Linked DNA regions of Homo sapiens: region 1 is linked to region 2. Evidence: promoter capture Hi-C in human tissues and cell types (Jung and others, 2019). All regions are on one chromosome and are shown on one strand. Each heading gives the region's core, a stretch centred on a gene start or on the middle of the fragment in contact. The rest is flanking DNA. Distances are from core to core; before and after follow the strand shown. Region 1 overlaps ARMC8 (armadillo repeat containing 8). Region 2 holds the start of NME9 (NME/NM23 family member 9).

Region 1 (5,619 bases), core at 1,952-4,451, 88 kb before region 2:
CTTCTGTGATACTTCTACTGCATTTGGAGTTAGAATATTCCAACTTCATTTAAACTGAGATAATGTGTTCATCTTATGTTTCATTTTGAACATTTTTCCCTTTTTATTATGGAAAATTCTGAAGTATAAAGAATACAACATGTGCCCAGCACCTAGCCTCAAAATGTGTCCATCATTAGGTTATTTATTTTTAAAACTATTTGGTAGGTTTTTGTTTCATTTTGTTTTTTTAAATATCTGGCTTACCATCTGTATTTGTCAGTTAGTTTTCTTTGACTATTAAATTGACTGAACCTCCGAAAAGCGAATTGTCAAAATCTTCACTCTCAAGATAAGTGATATTATTTGGTTTTCGATTTTTTAATAAAATCTTAAAGGCAAATAATTTTTCATTTAAAGCTTTAAACTCCAAGCAAAAACTTATTTTCTGCTGTCTTATTCCAGTTTAACTTACATGTGTAGAGCTGGAGCAATTCGGACAGATGATAACTGTATTGTATTAAAGGTAAGCTAATTAATTATCTTTAAAATGTGAAAATTATCCAGTTATGTGTTAAATATCAGTATTGATACTCATATTTCATTTTACACATTTATCATTATGATATATGTGCATGGCGTAGAATAATATTGAAAGACCATGCTTTCTTTTCAGTGGATGTCATATAGTTTTTAAAAATTGATTTTAGATGTGTTTCGAAAGTCAGCGTGAAATAATTATTTCATTGTCACAGCCTTTCATTTTATGGTAATTAGGAGGATGTGGAAATTGTAAAAGTGTACAATTCAGGTGAAACAGAAAATATATTTCGTTCTTGATTGTCATTAAATTTGTACTACAGTTTTAGAGGCAGACGATTTGCCACTTTTGCAGAAAAAGACTTTATATCATTCTCATAGCTGATAATCAAAAGGCATAATGAAAGAGAATAAGTAGATAACACATGAAAACAAGCATTGTCATTGTGATATGTCATATACAACTTGAATTTAGAAAAACCTGGAGAAAAGACCAGCCCTAAAAGTCCTAAAACCTGGATTCTGGTTTTAGCACTCCCACCTCTGACTGTACATCCTTTATTCTTTTGATGCCTCGGACTCCAGATTATGAAAATTGAAGCAATAATTCCTGCTCATCTATGCACAGGGTTATTGTGAGGATAACAATATATTAAATACATTAAAATGTCTTATTAGCTATAAAAAATTAAGTATAAGTAAATTGATGATGTGTCATTTTATAAATATGAGATCTCACATTATCATTGTTCAAAAGGTGATCCCAAGGATAAAAGAGCACAAAGAAGACTAATATTTGCTTTAGTCTTTGGGGAAGAGAATTAATTTAATGAGATCTGAACACTCCCTAAGTAAACAACTCTTCATAGAGTGCCACGGACTTCCATAGCATTTATCTTGATTTATTTACTTCTCTAACCTTCCTCTTTTTCTGCATTGGTAAAATGTTAGTAGTATATTCTTCACATAGTAGTCATGAGCATTAGATTACATAATTCATGAATTTATGGTATCAATAAATATTAGTAACTAGTAATGTTAGGGAAAAAAGAATAGGGCCTTCCCCTTGGAAACCTAGGGTTGAATTATAAAGCTTCTACTAGCCTAATAGGAAATTAGTAGTGAACGATGAAGTGCTAAGCTCTGTGGTAAAAGATATAATAGGAACTTATTATATATAAAAGAGCAAAGCACAGTTGCCTGCAGTATTTGAGGAAGACTTTCTATAATGATAACATTTCAATTTATACTTCCACATTGTCCTTTCAAGTGGATCCGTCAGGCTTAGAAATAGTAAATGTCGTTCGAGACCAGCCTGGCCAACCTGGTGAATCCCCATCTCTACTAAAAATAAAAAATTAGCCAGGAGTGGTGGTGGGTGCCTGTAATTCCAGCTACTCAGAAGGCTGAGGCAGGAGAATTGCTTGAATCCAGGAGGCAGAGGTTGCAGTGAGCCGAGATCGTGCCATTGCACTCCAGCCTGGGCGACAGAGCGAGACTCCGTCTCAAAAAAAAAGAAAAAGAAATAGTAAATGTCTGTAATATTTTTATTGAGAACCTAATGTAGATAAGTTACCAAACCATTGCCAAGATTTTTGAGGGACCTCAGAAGTAAAATTGGACTCATGGATACCACTGCTAATTCCAGCAAGTTACTGGGAAAACCTAGCAACTGTGATACATTTCAGTTGCATTATAGTAGAACTGGTGGAATCTGAGTAATGGTAAGATCACTGCAGTTTTAAAGCTGTATTTTGTTTTGGCAACTGTAGGTATGACTCCCCAAACCAAAAAATAAACGATATTACTCACTAAGGAAGAGATAGCATACTTTTCCTAAGGCAAAATCATTCCTGATTAAACTGCTGGGTCTTTTTTAGGTAAATAAATAGATAGATAGGGCAGAACCATCAGACATGATTTGTTAGGGATTCTTAAATGTCTTTTACAAAGTTGTACAATAAAACTTGTCTTATCGGTCCCAAAAGCCTAATTAGAATTTGTATTAATATACTTTGACGTACGAATAGAGTTTAATGTGCCAGTACAAATTATTAATGTGTACTGAATTTTGCTTGTTTTTGCATTTTAAAAAAATCTTTTATTCTCTAGAAGTCAGTAAAGGAAATATATGATCATAAACATTACTCCTGATAAAAGCTATTGAGTTGATTCAGTCACTATATGCTTAAGCTTTTACCTTTACCAAAAAGCAAATAATTAATCTCACTACCTTTCAGACATTACCTTGTTTGGTTCGAATGTGCAGTAAGGAGAGATTACTAGAGGAGAGAGTTGAAGGAGCTGAGACACTTGCCTATCTGATTGAACCAGATGTTGAGCTACAGAGAATCGCTAGCATAACTGATCACCTCATTGCCATGCTTGCTGATTATTTCAAGTATCCCAGCTCAGTGAGTGCCATCACTGATATTAAAAGGGTATGTTATTTTCCTTTTTTAGCAGCTCAAGGGAGATTTTTCTAAAGTTTTTCTTACTGTTCACAGTTTTGAACCAATTGATAACTACAGCTTAAAGCCCTTTTAAATAAAGGTTCTTTTATCTTTGGTAACATAGATAATATTGCTTTGTGAATTTTTGAATCCAAGTTGTTTAATGTTTATTGTCAGAAAGTTTTTACTGAGCAGATAAGCAATAAAGAAAATTGCATCCTAACTCCCCAACTAAACCTCAAAAGTAGTGGATTCTCCAAGCTGGGTATTGACATAACCGTATAATCTTATTCTTGGTCATGGAATCATCTCTGTTGTTACATTCTCATTCTTTAGGTCAGGAGTAATCTTTTTGTTACAGGAGACTAAGTTGTCCCATGTTACTTTCCACCACAGTCTATTTTGTTACCTTTCCCTATCTTCTCTTTTTCCCAGTTTCATACTGTGCTTTGGGCCTGCTAGTGACAGCTAAAGCATCATTTAATCTTGAATTTGGGACCAAAAAGGCCAAATTGTGCTTTTTCTGAAAACCTAAGTTCCTTAGAATAGATCGGTATTTATTTTGACTTGTTGCATCTCAGCCTGTTTGCCCTATCCATTTCTTTAAGCATAGGAGATGAACATTCTGTAAGAGAAAGTTTATTCAAGGAGGTCATGGTAGAGAGAACATTGCCTCTTAATTAGTAGCCAGTACTGTTTCATGAATGTAACTGTATTTTTCATGCCAGTGGTTCCAATGGTAACTATTCTCCTTTTGACCTCTCCCTCATGCTTTTGAGTTTCAAAAAACCTCATTTGGTAGGCAGTTGTTCATTTGGCTTTTAACTTTGAAAATAAAGCAAACTATTAAGGGTATATCTTTACTCTGTCTTAAGAAGGGCCTAAAATAACCTTCACTGGTATTTGTATTAGTAATGTACTCTACTCTCTGGGTATTAAACTTATGTGTCTGCTCTTCTTTCAGTAGTGGTGTTTTTCCAGTAGAAGTGATGGGTTACATACATTTAACCAGTTGCCTTGTCTGTTTTCCTTCTGGTCATTTTTTCACACTGACACTGTATCTTACCAATACAAAGATACATGAGCAACCCTTAGCTACTGCCTCATGAACGCCCTGAGTTGACCACCCCAGGAAGGCAAATAAAATGTTTTGATGGCCATGAGAGTAAGGAAACAATTTTAAGAACATGTAGCCTATGCATATGCAAATCATTTAACTAGTACGTAGATTATCCCTTCTGTTAGTTTTTCCATTTCATTTCCATCAGAGTAAAACTGTAACAACAATAATCCTTAAAAATGACATCGTAATACCAAACTTGAGTAATAGTTTGTTTTGTCATCTTTATTTTTGATGATGGATTATCCAAAGGTTTCTGACCCGAAAAGTATAGACACTAGACCCGTAAAGAGAAATCTTCACATGTTAATAAATTTGTGATTTTCATGATATGTTAGTTCAAGTCAGTATTATATCTTAATTTATGACTAGAATGTAGTTAAGACTTTAAGAGTAGATACTTTTAGAACTTATCAAAGTGAGTATTCTGTATTGGGAAGTTCTTCCTATAATCCATCAGTGTCTGCTTTGAACAGAAGTTTTGGAACTATTAAGAATTGCCTTCAGAGCCACCCCAAATTATATATATATGTAAAATATATATATTGTCTTTTGCTTTCTGTGGAATTTTTTGTTACCTACGTTATATTACCCAACTGAATTTCTCCATCTTCACACACAGTCAGTGACAACTAAAAGTCTCATCATTGATCAAGCTATACCACTGTCAGTGTTTTCTAGCTAATAATACCAGTTAGCTCTTTAGGAAGTTTCAAAAGAGGGTCTCAGAATGTTATGAACAACACCTACATCATTGGATGAGTGAACCTTTCCAAAGTAACTTCTTTGGGAAAAGTGGTATTCATTTGGATGATTACATTAAGGCTTTTAGTTACGAGGTTATTTATATTATTGGTAGACTTTGTATAGTTACTTGGTCATAGTCAGTCATTGAAAGTATCCTGAAAATATGCTTCTGTTTTATCTTTACAGTAGTTTGGTGATCAAGTTTATAGAAGAGTTGATAATTAGTTATGCATGTTTAAAGATACCATTAATTGCTTCATGCTGATAATTTTGATAATGTTCTTGAAAAAACCCATACCCAACATAAATCTCAGATAACTGTAATAGATAATAATGGTTACCATAGTATACGGTTTGTTAAGCATTTTCACAATGGGTTCTCTGTTTCTAAAAGCTTTTTATTTTATTTATTTTTATTTATTTATTTATTTTTGAGATGTAGTCTCGCTCTGTTGCCCAGGCTAGAGTGCAGTGGCGCGATCTCGGCTCACTACAACCTCTGCCTCCTGGGTTCACACCATTCTCCCGCCTCAGCCTCCCAAGTAGCTGGGACTACAGGCGCCTGCCACCACGCCCAGCTCATTTTTTTGTATTTTTAGTAGAGACAGGGTTTTATCGTGTTAGCCAGGATGGTCTAGATCTCCTGACCTCATGATCCATCTGCCTCGGCCTCCCAAAGTGCTGGGATTACAGGCGTGAGCCACCGCGCCCGGCCTCTAAAAGCTTTTTAAATGCCAAAATTAGGCCAGCACTACTCTTAATGTTTCAGAAAATTAAGGG
Region 2 (5,516 bases), core at 2,673-5,172:
ACATTTAATCCTTAGATAGAGTGCAAGTTTTCCTATTTATCCCATAATGTCCTGAGTATCAAAGGAGCTAATCAGAAATGTGTGCTAGATTTATTTGTCAAGTCTTTTTAGTCTGGAATAGTTCTTTAGTCTTTCTCTTCTTTTCACAATGTTGACACTTTGGAAAACTACATGCCAGGTATTTTGTAGAATGTCCCTCAGTTGGGGCATATCTGATGTTTCCTCCTGATTGGATTCAGACTGTGCATGTTTGGACTGGTTGAAATTGGCTGGACTGGTTGGAGTGTTGGAGAAGCTGAAGATCATTCCTCTCACTACTCCCTAGCAGATGAGACACAATTTCCATCTGCCTGTTACTGATGTTCACTTTGATCACTGGATTAACATGGTCTGTCAGGTCTGTTGTCTGTAAAATTATTCTCTTTTCCTTTGTAATTAACATATTTTTGTGGTGAGCTACTTTGAAACTATATACATTAAAAGACCACAAAAATTACTACTGGGTTTTTTGTTTGTCTTTTTTGAGACACAGTCTCACTCTGTCACCCAGTCTGGAGTGCAGTGGCATGATCATGGCTCACTGCAACCTCTGCCTCCTGGGTTCAAGAGATTCTCCTGCCTCAGCCTCCCAAGTAGCTGGGATTACAAGTGCCCGCTACCACACCCGGGTAATTTTTTGTATTTTTAGTAGAGACAGGGTTTCACCATGTTGGCCAGGCTGGTCGTGAACTCCTGACCTCAAGTAATCTGCCTGCCTCGGCCTTCCAAAGTGCTGGGATTACAGGCATGAGCCAGCACGCCTGGCCTACTATTGTTCTTAATACAGGTATGCTAAGGTCTGTGTCCCTCTAAAAAAGATAGGATGCATTATTGGCAATAAGGGCAAGAAACATGTAACAACTGCTAATCCTCTATTAAAAGTTCCTTTTTTGGCCGAACGTGGTTGCTCATGCCTGTAATCCCAACACTTTTGGAGGCCAGGGCGGGCAGATCACTTGAGGCCAGAAGTTTCAGACCTGCCTGGCCAACATGGTGAAACCCTGCCTCTACTAAAAAAAAAAAAAAAAAAAAAAAAAAGTTAGCCGGGCGTGGTGGCGCATACCTGTTTTACCAGCTACTCGGGAGGCTGAGACATGAGAACTGCTTGAACGTGAGAGGTGGAGGTTGCACTGAGATGAGATCATGCCGCTGCATTCCAGCCTGGGCGACAGGACAGAATGAAACTGTCTCAAAAAAAAAAAAAAAAAAGTCTCTCTTTTAAGGAAGCATAGTCCTTACTTTTTTTGTTTCAATGAAAAGTAGAAGAAAAAGAAACCCAGAAAAGTCTTCTTGATGTCTTAAATGAAATAAGAGAGTTGGACTGACATAACCCTGGGCCCACAACTACAGTCCTGAGGAAGGTGATAGAAGCGTTCGGAAGGGCCCCACACCCCTACCCAGAGGCTCAGACTTAAGTCACCAGCAGCTCTCTGTGGCCCACCCCTGTCATGGAGTGAGTCCCACCAGCTCTGGGGCCAGGACTCTGGGCAGTTGAAGAATCTCAGCCCTGGGAGCCAGGCAAGAGTGGAACAGTGTGGGAACTATCCGGACTTCACTAAGCCTGCATTTGGTAGGGAATGAATAGGGAATGTGTGGCACCTTTTACCCAGACTGTCCCTTGATGTCCTGTGATTTCTGCCTGTCTCAGTTATAAAGGGAACCCTGAATAACCTTGCTGAGAGAGAGGACAAGGTTCCTGGGTTGGCCAACTTTAGGCATTGCTTTCAAGGGGTTTACCTTATAGAGAGGTGACCTTTACACAGATGCCTCAGTAGAAGACGGGAGGGGAGGCTGCTCGCTCTCCTCCTTTCAGCAGGAGGGAGCACTTAGTTTGAGTACTGCATTGTACTCAGAGCTCTGAGTAATACACATGAAAAAATAACAACATTGCTAACAAAAGTTATTACCCCCATAGGAGCTCTAGGGCATCAACACATGAAATGACCATAATATGGGGCAATAACATTAGAGACACCACAGACAACATCAGACCAGCCAGGAAGTGTCTAAAGGAGTCTCATCACAGCTCTGCAGGCGTTACAGGACAGGTATCATCCCTCCTGTCTACGTAAAGGATACGGAGGCCAGAGAGTTGAGGAAATGAGTCACACAGCAATGAATGGTAGGACCAGTTGATCAGAATTTACTTCAACCAGAACATTCACGTATGAAGTGGCTTCTGACTCTAGAATCCTAGAATATCAAGGCTGGAAGAAGGCCCTTAGGGATAATTCACACAACATCCTCATTCCATAGATGGGCAAGCTATAGCCTGGAGAGGTTATGTGATGTAGTCAAAGACACAGTTGGCTATAGAGGACACAAGAACTACATCAGGTCTTCTGACTTCCAGTCTAAAAATCCCACCCCACCCCACCCCACACCCCTCCCACCCCCAGCATGGGGTACCCTTAGAATGATGCTGCTTTCCCCTTTCCTCTTTTTTAAACCACTAGGCTTTTGAAATCCACATGCAAACTGCTGGTCCTGCTGAGGACAATAAGAGAGAAACCAGATGTCTCAAAACCACTAATGCTCTATTATCTAGGAGGCGCTGTAGCCTTGGTATGCATCTTACTGGGGCCAGCTGATGATGAGGCATTTTAAGTTCGTTTTAAAATGTTCCCATGTTGCAGATCATCCAGCTGATCTCCTTATGACCAAGCACTCTCTCCTAATTCCAGGGTCTATGCCTGCATGTTTTTACCATCACTTCAGAATCAACCACTATCTATTGTCCAGGACCAAGAAGAAGAGCAGCTGCTGGCTTCTGAATTCACTTGTCCCACATGCAAATGAAGTAAGACACTCTATATAACATATGTCCAGCACATAATATATCTCAAAACATATTTGTTAATAAGTGAAATTTGATGAGAACAGTGGTGGGAAAACTGGGTCTCCACAGAGCACACAGTTACAGACTCATGCCCAAAGTCAAAAGAACCTATACTGTATTCTCTGTGCAAGCTGCAGTTGTATTTCAACAAGAACAAAATAACGGTCACATCGAGTTATGTTGATTCGTATTTTCTTAGTTTATAGTTTTATTTAATGCATGTTTAGGTTTTATGGTTGTATAAGCACTATAAATGTAAACAGCTTCTACTCAGTTTTGTTTGCATTAATTTTGTTTGCGTAAAATTTGTCATCACTGGGGTTCCAAGATAAGTTTTGTCCCTTTAAGACGGAAGGGTACATCACTCAAGTTTGAGAACACTGTCACGTACTGCTGGCAAACAGAATGTCACTTTTATACTGCAACCCCGCTCTAATCACCCTCCTCTTCCCCGAGCCCAACCCAGAGCTGGAAGCTAGCGCCCCTTGAGGCTTACCTGCAGGGCAATTTCCTTCTTCCTGCTGCCCATGGCTCTGCAAAGAAGACGAAGCCCTGTTACCGCGGCCGTGGGCCGTTCCCCCGCAGCCTCGCGACAAACCGCTGCGTGGATCAGCAAGCCCAGAGCCTCCTTCAGACAAGCCCCCCTCCTACGGCCCCCGGCCCCTTTTTAAGGTGCTTCTAACTGGCGGCAAATCAGCACACTGATACAAAGTGAACACCCCGCGAGGAAGCGGAGCCTGCAGTCCACGGGCTCGTGGCTCGCCGGGCGGTTTTCTGGGGATCTGCGAAGCCCCCTCCCCACCCCGGAGCCGGCCAGGGGGCGCGCGCAGAGGCCGGAGTCAGTGCGCCGGGCGCGGTGCAGCCTGTCGGGCACAGGGTCGCCAGTCGAGGAATTCTGACAAAAAAACGACATGGGACCCTGTTATCCCTGCTGTTCTTATGGATTACTGGGAAAGTGAGCCACTGCGAACGACAGGTACAAGATCTTCGACGCGCCCGGAGTCACCAACCGAGTCTGCCGCGACCTAGCCGCGGTCGTCATGGCAACCTGGCCCCCCCGCCAGGCCTGCCAGGAAAGCCGGCGGACACGTAAGCCACGCCCACTCTGGGCCCAACGCAGTCTCTCCGCGGAGGCTCTGAACCCAGCCAGGGAGAGGCAGGAGGGAGTCCCGCCCCTTGCCCTCCATATCGGACCATAGGAACCCACTCATTGGCTGCAGTGTTTGTCAGCGTCTGGAGGCTTCGAACCCACCAAGCAAAGACCCAGTGCATCTGTGCGTTGCACAGTCGCATCTGTGAATCCCTGCATCCCTCCTGCCCTGCCTGCCAAGACTGATGTGCAGCTTTTCTACCATCACATACCGGTATAATGTGTGCAAGGTGGGGGGTGTCTCCAGGTTTTGAGGGATCTGCAAGCGTTCTCTTTAAGGCAAAGAATATGAAATTACAAATTCAAAATTAGATATGAAAGTCAAGTGAGACACATACAAAACAGTTACAGACATTGTAGATATTAATCCAACTGTATCAATAACCACTTTAAATGTGAATAATCTGATTACACCAATTAAAAAAGAGATTGTCAGAATGGATTTCAAAAACAAACAAAGCCCAATCGTGTGTTATCCACAAGAAAATACATTAAAAGCAAAAGGATAGAGAAAGCTATACCAGGCTGACACTAATTAAAAAAATAGCTGAAGTAGGTATGTTAATTTCAAGAAAAGCAGACTTCAGAACAAGGAAATTTATCAGGTATAAACAGGGACATTACATAAAGTTAAAGGGATCAGTTATTTGGGAAGACATAACAATACTTAATATGTATGTACTTAAAAACAGAGCACCGAAATATGTGAGGCAAAAGAAGATAAAACTGCAAGGAAAAATAGGTAAACTCAGTATTATAATAGAATGCTTTCATACCATTTTTAAAAAGTAATTAATACATCCAGCAGAAGCAAATGAGCAAGGATATAGTTGAACTGAAAAATATCAAATTGATCTAATTGACATTTATGCAATATTTAGTTCAACAACAGCGGAATATAGATTCTTTCTCAAGCTCACATGGGACATTCACTGAGATAGACCACAATCTAGGCCATAAAACATAGCTTAACAAATTTAAAAGGATAGAACAAAGTATGTTCTCTGACTGCAATAGAATTAAACTAGGAATCAATCACAGCTGATGAAAGAGATCTCACAGATTTAAATAAATGAAGAAATATTCCGTGTTCATGGATAGGAAGAATTAATATTGTTAAGATATCAATTCTTCCTAAGTGAAGCATACACCAAATGATTTCCATCCAGGGAGTGCTGATACCCTGTTTGGCCATGAGGTACCCAGCAACCCTCTGTGAAGTACAGGGCGATGGGTATACTGGAGACCGAACATCTTCCTACCTGTCATCCTGCCTTCTCCCACTTCAGCTCCGAATCCACCTACTCTTTTCTTGCATTCAGTCCCATGGCAATATTCAGTTCCATGATAATATTACGCAGAGCCACAGGCAGTCCTTAAGACACCACATTGCAAACTGAGTTGACTAGATGCAAATCATGTTCATTGCCACAAGGTGGTGGTTGCTGAAGCTCTTGAATGGTGTGGAATCTCCCTTAGAATTTAGTT

Evidence for each region. Contacts are between HindIII fragments. The study calls those that stand out against the background at their distance.
Region 1: a fragment that was not itself captured here is called in contact with the fragment with the promoter of NME9 in region 2 in 4 of the 25 tissues and cell types used here (aorta, mesendoderm cells, pancreas and 1 more).

What each region holds. Positions count from the first base shown.
Region 1 is chr3:138,239,024-138,244,642 of GRCh38, forward strand. It overlaps ARMC8 (armadillo repeat containing 8), which reads left to right. Exons shown (of 22, transcript NM_001363941.2): 10 at 445-505; 11 at 2,760-2,960. Among named protein-coding and RNA genes, the nearest start is that of ARMC8, 55 kb to the left of the region's middle. The HindIII fragment of the contact is 4,392 bases long and covers 1,006-5,397 here.
Region 2 is chr3:138,325,929-138,331,444 of GRCh38, forward strand. NME9 (NME/NM23 family member 9) reads right to left here and starts at 3,923. Exons shown (of 11, transcript NM_001349018.2): 1 at 3,375-3,923. The coding sequence starts at 3,407. LOC124909438 (a long non-coding RNA gene) reads left to right here and starts at 4,005. Exons shown (of 2, transcript XR_007096113.1): 1 at 4,005-4,242. The HindIII fragment of the contact is 18,429 bases long and covers 1-5,516 here.